Linked DNA regions of Homo sapiens: region 1 is linked to region 2. The links are contacts of gene promoters, found by promoter capture Hi-C in blood cells and fetal thymus (Javierre and others, 2016). All regions are on one chromosome and are shown on one strand. Each heading gives the region's core, a stretch centred on a gene start or on the middle of the fragment in contact. The rest is flanking DNA. Distances are from core to core; before and after follow the strand shown. Region 1 overlaps OSBP2 (oxysterol binding protein 2). Region 2 holds the start of LIMK2 (LIM domain kinase 2).

Evidence for each region. Contacts are between HindIII fragments. The CHiCAGO score rates a contact against its expected background, and 5 or more counts as called.
Region 1: a contact is called between a fragment that was not itself captured here and the fragment with the promoter of LIMK2 in region 2, in 1 of 17 cell types (naive CD4 T cells). The highest score is 5.3, in naive CD4 T cells.

What each region holds. Positions count from the first base shown.
Region 1 is chr22:30,753,993-30,760,677 of GRCh38, reverse strand. The region is part of intron 2 of OSBP2 (oxysterol binding protein 2); the gene reads right to left. Among named protein-coding and RNA genes, the nearest start is that of MIR3200, 26 kb to the right of the region's middle. RefSeq lists a silencer at 5,007-5,156. The HindIII fragment of the contact is 7,351 bases long and covers 1-5,116 here.
Region 2 is chr22:31,210,991-31,217,189 of GRCh38, reverse strand. It overlaps LIMK2 (LIM domain kinase 2), which reads right to left and starts at 4,892. Exons shown (of 16, transcript NM_005569.4): 1 at 4,766-4,892. The coding sequence starts at 4,781. RefSeq lists enhancers at 3,284-4,209, 5,172-5,351 and a silencer at 4,792-5,191. The HindIII fragment of the contact is 1,589 bases long and covers 3,796-5,384 here.

The DNA of each region.
Region 1 (6,685 bases), core at 192-2,691, 450 kb after region 2:
TGCCTGGCTAATTTTTGTATTTTCAGTAGAGACAGGGTTTCACCATGTTGGCCAAGCTGCTCTTGAACTCCTGACTTCAAGTGATCTGCCTGCATTGGCCTTCCAAAGTGCTGGGATTACAGGTGTGAGCCACTGCCCCCAGCCCCATTTATTGATTTTCAAACATGGAACCTATCTTGCACCTATCTTGCACTCATCTTGCACTCCTAGCATGAAATCCACTTGATCATGGTGTAATATTCTATTGTATTGCTGGTTTCAAATTGTTAATATTTTGTTGAAGATGTTTTCATCTATGCTCATGAGAAATATTGGTCCGAAGTTTTCTTTTCTTACACTATCTTTGTTCAGTTTGGTATCAGGGTATGCTGTCCTTATAAATGAGTTAGAAATTACTCACTCCTGTAATCCTAGCACTTTGGGAGGCCAAGGCGAGCAGATCACTTGAGGTCAGGAGTTTGAGACCAGCCTGGGCAACAGTGCAAGACTCTGTCTCAAAAAAAAAAAAAAAGCCGGGTGCAGTGGCTCACGCCTGTAATCCCAGCACTTTGGGAGACCAAGGCAGGCGGATCACCTGATGTCAGTAGTTCAGGATGACCCTGGCCAACATGGTGAAACCCTGTCTCTACTAAAAATACAAAAAAAAAAATTAGCTGGGCGTGGTGGCACATGCCTGTAATCCCAGCTACTAAGGAGGCTGAGGGAGGAGAACTGCTTGAACCTGGGAGGCAGAGGTTGCAGTGAGCCAAGACTGCACCACTGCACACTCCAGCCTGGGCAACAGAGCGAGACACTGTCTCAAAAAAAAAAGAAAAGAAAAATTAAAAAAGAAAAGAAATTACTCATTCCTCTTCTGTTTTCTGGAAGAGATTGTGTGGAAATAGTGTTATTCTTTTTTCAAATATTTGATAAAATTTACCTGTGAAATCATGTAGGCCTGAAGACTTCTTTTTTGAAGTGTTTTAAACTATGAATGCAACTTCTTTAATAGTTATAGGATTATTCAGTTTATGGATTTGATCTTGGGCAAGTGTTAGAATTTGATTTTTGAAGAATTGGTTCATTTCATCCAAGTTGTCAAATTTGTCAGCAGAGTTGTCTGTAGCATTCCTTTTATGTATTATGTATCTATTTTATGTTTTTGTAGTATTGTCCTTTTATGTTTGTTAGTGCTATTAATTGTTTATTTCATTCCTGATGTTGGTAATTTGATATTTTCATTTTAGCAGTCTATCAAATAAGTTGGGTTAAGGCCACAGGTAGTGACCAGCCGTCTCTGGGTGGTGGTTTCACTGTTTGTTCCATTTTCAAAGCCTTTGCAGTACTATTTGTTTTTGTTTTTGAGACAGAGTCTTGCTCTGGAGTGCAGTGGTGCAATCTCGGCTCACTGCAAGCTCTGCCTCCCAGGCTCAAGCGATTCTCCTGCCTCAGCCTCCCGAGTAGCTGGGATTACAGGTGTGCACCACCACGCCTGGCTAATTTTTGTATTTTTAGTAGAGACGGGGTTTCACCGTGTTGGCCAGGCTGGTCTCGAACTCCTGGCCTCAAGTGATCCACCTGTCTCGGCTTCCCAAAGTGCCAGGTTACACTGCGCCCGGCCCTTTGCAGTACTAGTTGGATCTGTTCCACATGTGTGCCAGCCAGTGGCCACAGGGACGTGGGTATTCATGCAGCTTTAAGTTCAGTTCTCAAAATCTTTAGTATGCTGTTTAGGATCAGATCCATCCATGTGCGGCTTGAACGTGAAGCCAGGAGTTCATGAAAACAACGTTATGGGGTCACTTTCCCAAGGTGTTCTCTTTCTGTGATTTCCTGTTTTTTTCTGGTTCTCTTGGGCTCTGTTTCAGTCCTCTGGCTGCCCACTTCCCACCACCACACCTATATCGGGGGCTAAGTGGTAGGAAGAGTGAGAGAAAAATGGAACAGGGGTTCCCTCACTTCTTGGGCCCAGAGCTCTTCCTACTGGTGTGCATGGATTCCTCTGAGTTTTTGGTACCTGCAGGCCTCTCATCGCCACTGCTATCACTGACAGGGGACCCTTTCCTCCTTGAGCCTGAACTAGAGGGCTTCTCCAGGAGTTTTCTCTGTCTGCTCACTTCTGGGTCTCCCCTGAGTCCACTCTAGAAGATACTGGAGGGAAAAAATTGTAACCTCACCACCTGTTTGGTGTTACCTCAGATTCTGGTCTTCTCTAGTCTGCTTGTGGCTACTTAATTTTCAGGGTGCTCAAATAGCTGCTCTGTGCATTCTGTCCACATTTTATTTTATTTTATTTTTGAGACAGAGTCTCGCTCTGTCACCCAGGCTGGAATGCAGTGGTGCCATCTCGGCTCACTGCAACCTCTTCCTCCCGGGATCAAGTGATTATCACACCTCAGCCTCCCCAGTAGCTGGACTACAAGCGTGCGCCACCACACCCGGCTAATTTTTGTATTTTTAGTAGAGATGGGGTTTCACCATGTTGGCCAGGCCGGTCTCGAACTCCTGGCCTCAAGTGATCGGCCTGCCTCAGGCTTCCAAAGTGCACGGATTACAGGCATGAGCCACTGTGCCTGGCCCTGTCCATGTTTCATAGCTGCAGAGTGAAACCTTCTCACTTAATCCTACCTGGAACTGGAACTGAGCAGAATTGGATTTTAAAAGACTCACTCTTGCTGTCCAGACTCTGGGAGGTCAGATAGTGAAACTGGGTTGGAGGCCAGGCAGATGGAGGGCAGTGGGCAGATGTGAAAGTGCTCAGGTCTGGCACTGACAGGATCTGCTGACAAGCTGCACATGAGGGATCAGGGAGGGCAGGACTCAAGGTGACACCCAGGTTCACTTCTTAGTCATCTGCCAGGTCTGGAAAGTGACCTGAGACCTTGGCTAGTACAGTTTCAAAGTAGTGAGTGGTGGGTCATATGCAGTGGGAAGAGGCCAGGAGAGAGGTTGAGGCTACAGGAGTGACAAAACAGCAATAAGGCTGGGTGCAGTGGCTCATGTCTGTAATCCCAGCACTTTGGGAGGCCGAGGCGGGCAGACCACTTGAGGTCAGGAGTTTGAGACCAGCCTGGCCAACATGGTGGAACCCTGTCTCTACCGAAAATACAAAAATTAGCCAGGTATGGTGGCACCCACCTGTAGACCCAGCTACTCGGGAGACTGAGACAGGAGAATCACTTGAACCCGGGAGGCGGAGGTTGCAGTGAGCCGAGATCATGCCATTGTACTCCAGCTTGGGCGACAGAGACTCTGTCTCAAAAAAAAAAGAAAAGAAAAGGAAAAAGAAAACAGCGATAAAACCAAGTCCCCCAGCAAGAGGGAGAAAATCACCCTTTGAAGCTGGCACTGCTTCAAAGGGGAGAAATGTCTCCACTGGAATCATTTGGGATTCATATGGCAGGGGGGACGCAGGGAGCGTGTAATGGCAGAGAGCTGAGGGGCTCAGCTGTGGATCTGGTTTTGTTCTATGCATGAGGAAGCAAGATCTTTTGCAGTGTGGCAGGAGGCAGCAGTGAAAATATACAGAGTAGCAAGGACGTCCCTGGGAGATGGGAGAGAAAGGTGGTGAGGGACTCACACAAAGGGGACAGGTACTGATCAAGGCCAGCAGATATTCTGGGTTTGAGGAGTGTGGTCTGCCTGGCTGGGAGGTGTCAACGCACAGCAGATACCCTGCGTTTGAGGAGTGTGGTCTGCATGGTTGGAAGGGGTCACCACACAGCAGATACCCTGGGTTTGAGGAGTGTTGTCTGCATGGCTGGGAGGGTCACTGCAGAACGTGGCTGCATAGCATGTGTACGTGTGCTCAGCAAAGGGCCCTATCACCCCTGCCTGAAGGTAGAAGGTGCAGAACTGACAGGTCATCACCCAAAGACTGACAATGTTACTTCCGTCAGCTGAGTGGCCACCACACTCCAGTGACTGCTGGGCAGTTTGTAGCATGATTTGATTTATCCCTCTTGACAACTCTAAGAGGTTTTTTTTGTTTGTTTGTTTTGTTTTTTTAATGGAGTCTCGCTCTGTCGTCCAAGCTGGAGTGCAGCGGCATGATCTTTGCTCACCGCAAACTCCACCTCCCGGGTTCGAACGATTCTTCTGCCTCAGCCTCCTGAGTAGCTGTGACTACAGGCGTGCGCCACCATGCCCAGCTAATTTTTGTATTTTTACTAGAGACGGGGTTTCACCGTATTGGTCAGGCTGGTCTGGAACTCCTGACCTCGTGATCCGCCCACCTCAGCCTCCCAAAGTCAAAGTGCTGGGGTTACAGGCGTGAGACACCATGCCTGGCCCCTAAAAGGTCTTTATCATTACATACACTTTGTGGGTGAAGAGACAGAGGCAGAGGGACCCACCTTATAAGTGACACAGTCTGGATTTGGGCCCAACCTGTCTAGTGCCTGGGCTGCCCCATGGTTAGACAGAGGACAAACAGGTGTGAAGGAAGCCAGACAACCAGGAGAGAGAGGAAGAACTCACCCCAGCAGGGATGAACCACAGGGCGAGGCCAAGTGAGAAAGGAAAAGAAAAACGCAACTGCCACCTGGAGGAGTCAGATCTGGAAGGGCACTGGAAGGGTAACTGCTGTGGTGGCCAGAACAGGGCTTCTGATTTTAAGATTACTGAGCCAGAGCCCACAGAGTCTGGAGGTGACCATGTGGGGGCAGAGGTGGACAGGGCCTAGTGGGGTCAGGCTGCGTGGGGACTGGTGCTCCACGTTAAGGCACAGCTGAAGATGCAAGAGCATGCCGACCAGGGAACGAGGCCCAGGGGTTGAGGACAAGCTCCATGGCCAAGGGCCCTGGTGGACCTGAGGGCTGAGACGGGTGGGGTGCAATCCTAGCAGAGGCACCAAGACACCAGGATTTGGAAGAATGAGTGGCACAGGGAGGGGAACGCTGAAGAGGGGCACAATCGACCAGTCCCTGGGCCAGGTTTGCCCCTCTTGGAGGGTGGGGGCTGCGTAGGTGAAAGTTCCTTCTCCTGGTTGGACTCTTCTCCCCAGAGGTCTCACATTCTGATGACCCTGTGGGGACCTTATAAAGACAGGTGAGCAAGCCAGCCCTGGTTGACTCAACATGCCCTCAGAAGGGCCTCAATCCAGCCACCAGATGGCAGCTGGAAATAAGACAAAGCTTCCCGAAGTCAAAAGAGGCCTACACTTCGGAAGCTGCTTAAACAACCAATCACACGGTCCTGGGGTTGCCTGATTCCTCATCAGAACAGCAGAAAACTCCATGCCCTTCCTCATATGAATTTTTCTAATAAAGGATAAGAAAGGAATGAGAATCTGATAATAAGGACTCTCTTGAAAGGCTGCTTGGTCCTGTGGTGAGCTCTGGTCTCTCTGGTGATATGGGGCCCTGTACATCTCCAGCCCAGCAGGGAAGTCTCCTGATCTGTGGCCCAGGACATCATCTGAGGTCCCAGCCATCAGCTGCCCAGAGCTCTGCACCCACTCTGCTCTAAGCGCCCCTGTGGGTCTGGCATGCCCAGTGGGTGTAAAGCATGACTGTTTAGTGGCCACGGCCTACACAGCTATAGATCTATAGATGTTGTCCATCAGCAGCTGAGAAGTGCCCACAGGGGGACACAAGTGAGCTGATCCTGGCTAGGGCGTTGGAGATGCGTGTGCTGAAAGCTAAGAGGTCAGGAAGATAGGGTCCCAGCAAGAAAGAGGAGAGGCTGCCCAGCAGAAAGAGTGGGTATACAGGAAGAAAGCAGAGGGGTCAAGGACGGGGAGTTTTTATGAGCTTGAAGACAGATGGGAAGATCAGTGATGGGGACAGGAAGATGTAGTCAGCAGAAAGCTATATGGCAATGGGAGGCTTTGAGATGGGGCAAGGGCAGCCCCAAGAGGCAATGACCAAAGCTGATCCAGAAGCCAGGGGGCTGGACAGGTCAACCCCTGCCCCAGCACAGCAGCAGGAGGTCCATGCAGAGGAGCTCCAGGTGGAGAAGTCAGACACACATGGAGACCCCAAGATGAGGCCGGCGGGGCAGGACAGCACAGCACACAGGCTTCCCTGAGGCCAAGGGAGAGCCCTCGGGGGTGACACAAAGGACATGGGGAAGGTAAGGCAGCTTGCTACAGAGCAGGGTGGGGTGTAAGCCAAGGGGCACGGGGAAACAGTGAGGTGCCTACTCCACCCCAGGTACAGCTCTTCTCTCCTCTGCATGGGCCAGCATACCTGTGCTGCCCACATGAGTCTCTCCTCAGCCCCAAACAGTGAGCTCCTTAAAGGCCAGGTCCAAGCCTGTGCCTGTTCATCTCTGAGTTCCCTGCATCTGGCTCAGCCCCCAGGACACACAAGGACACCAATCAAAGCCTGCTGAGGGACATATGCATGCACTTTAGTGCATAAGAACCATTTTGCCTTTCAGTGACCTTGCAGGATTGCGTTGCTTTCTTTCACAGAACAGGAGCCTTCCAATGTCAACAATAAACAGGAACTATAAACAGAGGGAGTGTGCAGGGAAAACACATCCAGGGAGTTTCAGCATCTTCTCACGCACTTGGAAAAGTCTGCCCAATTTTTGGCTGAAGTCCAGCCAAAAGATTCAAAGGAAAATCTATTTTTTCCCCAAGCAGCAGAAAGAAAGACTCAGAGTAATTCTCTCAAGTGCTGTGTGCCTCTGATTTCTTGGAGTTTGATCAATGTGACACAATATTTGGGCATAACAATTAAGAACAAATAAATTCCAC
Region 2 (6,199 bases), core at 3,643-6,142:
GACCTTGTGATCCACCCACCTCAGCCTCCCAAAGTGCTGGGATTACAGGCGTGAGCCACTGCACCTGGCTCAAAGCCTGTCTTTAACTACATTTTAGACTTTCTTTCCTGGACAAAACAAATTACAGGCAGAAAGACATGATAAAAAAGAATCCCAGAAAGAATGTTCAAGGAACACTTTAATGAAACCAGGCATTGGTTTCATGTTCTAGTTACTATTCAATGTAAATTAATAGGTAAAATAGTCTAATTCTTTCTACTATATAAAAATAGATAAAGGATGAGAAAGAAGGTAGACTTGTAAGAGACTGCTACAGTTTCAGGTCCTCTCATTGAAATGAGATGTGTGTGATGGTGGGCCCTATCAGACCCGCTCAAGGTTACACTAACAAGAAGGCAGCCCTGTTCTGGGAATCAGCTCAGCCTCCAGAAGATGCAGAAAATCCACCATGAATGTGGAAAGCCTAATACAGCCCCTTGATCATGACGGATTTTTATTTAGTTTTGAAATCTTGTGGTCATTTTGGACCCTACCCTGCTCCATCACATATCCAGGACCATCCAAGTCACCCTGGCCTGCCTATGTCAGGAGGCATCTTTTATTGGTTGGTGCCTTCTTCATTGCTACCACTAAGACCTCATCTCAGGGCCCACTATACCCACCTCCAGATTGGTGGCCCTGTGCCCACATCATGAGTCTTCCTTTCTCTAAACCTACGGTGCCTACTGTAGACTAGAAACTTCCAAAATCCTCAGCCTGGCATTAAACCCTCTAGTCCGGTTGCACCCACATTCTCAGCTGTACCTTCCACTTCCTATGAATCTTCCACCTCCCAATCCTTGCCTCTACCACACGTATTTGCTACCCTTTATGAAGACCTGAAACTTGCCTACTTTTGTCTCCTACTCCCAAAGTTTCTTCCCTACTAAGATATCATCTTCCCCACCTTCTTTAAGCCTATTTAAGATTTCTCAAGTCTTACCCACTTCAAGAAGTATTCCCTAACCAAAACTGATGGCCACCCTGGATACCCTGCTATTCTTTAAACATGCCAAACACATTCCCTGACAACTCACTTCTTCTATCCCCTTACCCTACTTCACTTCTCTTCAATGGATTTATCCCTGAATATGATGTTCATACATTTACTTGCTGTCTATCTCTCCCCACCAGAACATACACTACATGAGGGAAGGGATTTGGTCTATCTTGTTCCTTGCTGTATCCCTAGGGGCCAAAAGAGTTTAGCACATAGCAGGAACTCAATATATATTTGTGGAATAAATGTTTGAAGAGAATTCTCCCTCATCTTTGAAATTCTATAATGTTATCATACGCAAGCCTTATAACAGCTTGTCTTATCAATTTTTTTCTTTTTTTTAAGAGATGGGGATCTTGCTATGTAGCCCAGGCTGGAGTGCGGTGGCTTTTCACAGGCGCAATCCCACTACTGATCAGCATGGCAGTTTTGTTTTTTGCCTTAATTACCTTAACTAGACAGTAAGTTTCTCAGAGGCACAAACTATATATAACTCATTTCCACAAATACTTATTAAGGGCTTACCATGTGCCAGACCCTGTACGTCTTAAGCAGCCTGGAATACTGGAAAGAACACTGCAGAAGTCTTACCTTGGTTCTGGCTCTACCACTAGTTGAGTGACCCTGGACAACTCCGTTTTTTTTCCCTGAGCCTCAGTTTCTTCATAGGTAAAACAAGGAGACTATACATTATCTCAAAACTCTCTCCTGGCTCTAACACCTGTTAAAATTTATAAGAGGTAAAACTTGGTCCTGCCCAGTGCCACAGACATCACAGGCACTCAGTAAATATTTGATTTGTTATCGATTCTCCGGTTACACGAGGAATCTGAGGTGTCTCAGAACATGGTTTGAATGGAATAACAAGTGAAAGTTTAAGTCCCACTTCCTTCTCAGACTCCATAGTCAACTTCATTCTGCTTTTTGTGCTACAGAGAGGAGGAAGCACTAAACTTGAAGTTGGAAAATATGAACTCTGACCACCACTGCTCATTTAGCTATGGAACCTTGTCATTTCTGGGCCTGTCTCCTCATCTATAAAAAAGCCATACTTGGCTGGGCATGGTGGCTCACGCCTATAATCCTAGCATTTTGGGAGTCCAAGGCGGGTGGACTGCCTGAGCTCAGGAGTTTGAGACCAGCCTGGGCAACATGGTAAGACCCCGTCTCTAATAAAAATACAAAAAATTAGCTGGGCGTGGTAGCACTTGCCTGTAGTCCCAGCTACTCAGGAAGCTGAGGCAGAAGATTCACTTGAACCTGGGAGGTGGAGGGTACAGTGAGTCTGGATCGCGCCACTGTACTCCAGCATGGGCAACAGAGCAAGACTCTTCCTCCCCACCCCCTACAAAAAAATCAAAAAACCATATTGACCTCCCAGCTCCAAGGCTCAAAGGCACTACATGCCTTCCTACCCTAGGGCCTTTTTATGCTGTTTCCTCTGCCTGGAATGCTCTGTGAGCTTTTTTTGCCAGGCTAACTTTTACTTATCTCCAGGGGTCAGCATAAACTTGCATTTTTAAGAAAAGTATTCCCTTCAAAAAAAAAAAAAGTAGAGGATGGGCATGGTGGTTCATGCCTGTAATCCCAGCACTTTGGGAGGTTGAGACAGGAGGATGGCTTGAAACCACCGTGGGCAACATAGTGAGACCCTGTCTCTACCAAAACAGAAAAAAAAGTAGAGAAAACCCTCACCCCTGGTGCACTCTTACAGCACTTATCTCAATTGTTTACCTTAACTATTATAGCATTTATTGCAATTGTTACAATTATTTATTGTCCATCTCTAGGATTATTAAGCACCACAAAGCCAAGAACTATGTCACCACTGTACTCAGCATTTGGCTAAGTATATGACACAGAAGAATCCAACAAATATTCTTTGAATGAAAGAAAGAATGCATAAACTAATGCATCTAGAGGCTTTATGCCTCTAGACTATTGTACTGTGAAACCTTTCACAATTTTCTAAGAAACAGGGTTCAAGACAGGCAACCTATATTACACAGCTGTTAGAAAAAGTTACTGGAAATCGGCCGGGTGCGGTGGCTCACGCCTGTAATCCCAGCACTTTGGGAGGCCGAAGCGGGCGGATCACAAGGTCAGGAGTTCAAGACCAGCCTGGCCAATATGGTGAAACCCCATCTCTACTAAATATACCAAAAAAATTAGCCGGGCGTGGTGGCGGGCCCCTGTTGTCCCAGCTACTCGGGAGGCTGAGGTAGGAGAATCGCTTGAACCCGGGAGGCAGAGGTTGCAATGAGCCAAGATTGTGCCACTGCACCCCAGCCTGGGCGACAGAGCAAGACTCCATCTAAGAAAAAAAAAAAAAAGTTACTGGAAATCATTCGAGTTGAAGGACTCTGTAAGCTTAAAAAAAATCTTTTTTAAGAGACAAGGTTTTGTTTTTAAGAGATGAAGTCTCGCTATATTGCCCAAGCTGGTCTCAAACTCCTGGACTCAAGCGATCCTCCTGCCCTGCCCTCCCAAAGTGCTGGGATTACAGGCATGAGCCACCACGCCCAGCCTAAAAAAATTTGTTTTAGGCATTTCCACCCCTAGCTCTCTCCAGAAGTCTGTTATCACCAGTGAAGAGAAAATCCCATGCTCCCTTGCTGAGGAAGTGACCCACTGGTAGCCCAGTCCTTGCATTCAAGATGAAGGAAGTGACTGTCCACAGACGGAAAGCCAGGAAGCAGGGGGCAGATAGCCAGCCCCCCTCCACCTCAATACCCTCTTGCCGCCTCTCCAAAGCTTCTGGACGCTGACCCTGGTGGACCCAGAGGTGGGCCACCCACACAGGTGGCTGGGAAACATAGGAGACAGAAGGTTCCTACTGCTGGGGGAAAAGATGGGGAAGGCAGGAAGCTGCAGGGTGGTGTGTGAGGTGGCGGGGAGGTGACTGCAGGTGCAACTAACCCAACTCTGAAGCTACCCTTCACCCTTAGACAACTCTTCCTTCCAGGAGGTGTTTGGCCGAATCCCTCTAGTCTTTAGTCTAGAGAGGCCAAGGGAGCTTCCACAGGAGGACTCAGAACCCCAGGTGGCCTACTTTCGCCACCTGTAGCAGAGATCTTTGGGCCCCAAAAAGAATGGTCCGATCTCTCCTTACCCTTAGTCCTGTCCTAAACCTCAAGGGGCTCCATACTCCCTTATTTTCTGCAAAGAGCTCCCAGCCCCGGGGGACTCCCAGACACCAAGATGCCCGCGAGAAGCCTTGGGTCTTGGCAGGGAAGTCACATCCTCCATTTCCCTCAGAAAACCCAGAACCCGGGGTAACTCTCCTAATTGTCCTGAACCCTAGAGGATCCTGTACTCCTCAAATTCCACAGAGCTTCCACTATAAGAGAACCCCATGCTTTTCAACTTCCTTAAAAAGGGTTAATTTGGGGGTCTGCGGCCGCCAGGTCCCTCCAAAAAGCTGGATTCCTGGCAGACCCAGAATCTCTTCCTCCCCGGGACCTCAACTCGCGGGAAGCCTCCCAACCCGCCTGCCCCTCGGAGCCCTCTGTCTCCAGGATGCCCTGCCTCCCCATTCCCGGAGTCCCACCCTCCAAATGCCTGGGGAGCGCTGTGCCCACCCCGCCTCCCAGCTTTTCTGAGGAGCTCGGACCCACGAGGACCCAACCAGCCCGAAACCCCCGAGAGACAGCCGGTTTCCCTCAGGCGCCATGGAACCGGACTTCGGAGATAACAGCGGGACAGGGCGGAGCAGCCCTTCCTTACCCGCCAGCGCGGACATGGTCCCGGGAGCGCGGAAATGGGGAGGAGGAGGCGGGGGACACAGCAGCTCCCCTCAGTTCCCTACAACTCCCCTCAGCTCCTGCCGCCGCCGCCTCAGGCGCGGGAAGACCACAGCCCCAGGCGCGAACGGGATGCACCGCCTACGGCGCCCTGGGAGGACCAAACCACACCTGGCACAGGGGACTGCCCGCCGACGCCCCGCCCCGCCGCTCTCAGGCCTCGCTCCCGAGACGCGGCCCCGCCCCCTGGCTCTGGCTCGGGCTCTGCAGCGGCCCTGGCGCCCCCTAGTGCGAGCGGCGTCCCCTCGAGGTGCTCCCGCCGGTAAGGTTGATTCTGCGGGGGCCGGAAGTCTCAACACGGATGACAGTCCGCACCCATCTAGTCGCCCTCATTTACAGATAGGGAAAGTTAAGGATCAGAGGCTAAGTTCGACTACATTGAAATGGCTTCGCTCATTAGGAGGAGAGCCGGGATGGGAGCCCAGGCCTGCTAACTGCCAGTTCAGAGCTCTTTCCAGTAGTGTTTGGAATCAGGAATATTACAATGGAGGAGCCAGGTCTATCCCACAAACAGCTTTGAGGATGGACTTTTCTTAGAAGCTTCTAGCTCAGAGAAACCACTTCTCTGCGCCACTATGAGTAAGCTGACAGTAAATAATCTCTAAGTCAAAGACAGTTGGAGGCGACCAACCAGCATTCCAGGAGCAGATCCTCAGCCAGGCCAATTAGGTTTAGCGCAGGACGCTGGAGCTTGTGCGCCGCATTGGAAGACGAGCACTCCCCTGCAGGAACATGGGCCTACCATTCCCAGGTCTTCCAACCTTTCAAAACATGCCAAAAATCCAGATATTTAGGTGAAATTTGCCACTTTTAAAAAATGTTGATAGCATCAAAAAGTTCTTAAAATGCCATGTAGACCAAATGAAACACACCTGGCCACTAGATTTGCCCTGTGGGCTGCCAGTTTACAATCTTCTATGAGGAGGAGGGATTACAGGACTAAGAGTTAGGACAGCTGACTGGGTTATGGCAGCTGCTAGCTGGCTGAGTAGCTTTGAGAACCACTTCCGCTCATTAGGTTTGGAAGGAGATTGGGGTCCTCTGTGTGATTAAGATATTAATACATCATCAGCCAGGCCAGCTGGTCCCTGATGACCCACCCTCCCATCAGATTCTCTCACGCTGGGTCTTTCACAATTGTCATTTCCTTACATCAGATTTAGATCACAGGAAACATGTCCAAATGACCAGAAAGAGGATGGAGCCCAGGGAAATGGATTCTGTCCCCTCCACCCCCACCCCTGACCAAAGACAAAGTTCAACCCAGCTGCCTCTGGTCCCAGCAGTTGGGTAAGCAAAGGCAAAGGCAAAGACAAAGGCGAGCACAATTCTCTTCCTTCCTGCTCTAATTCAAACC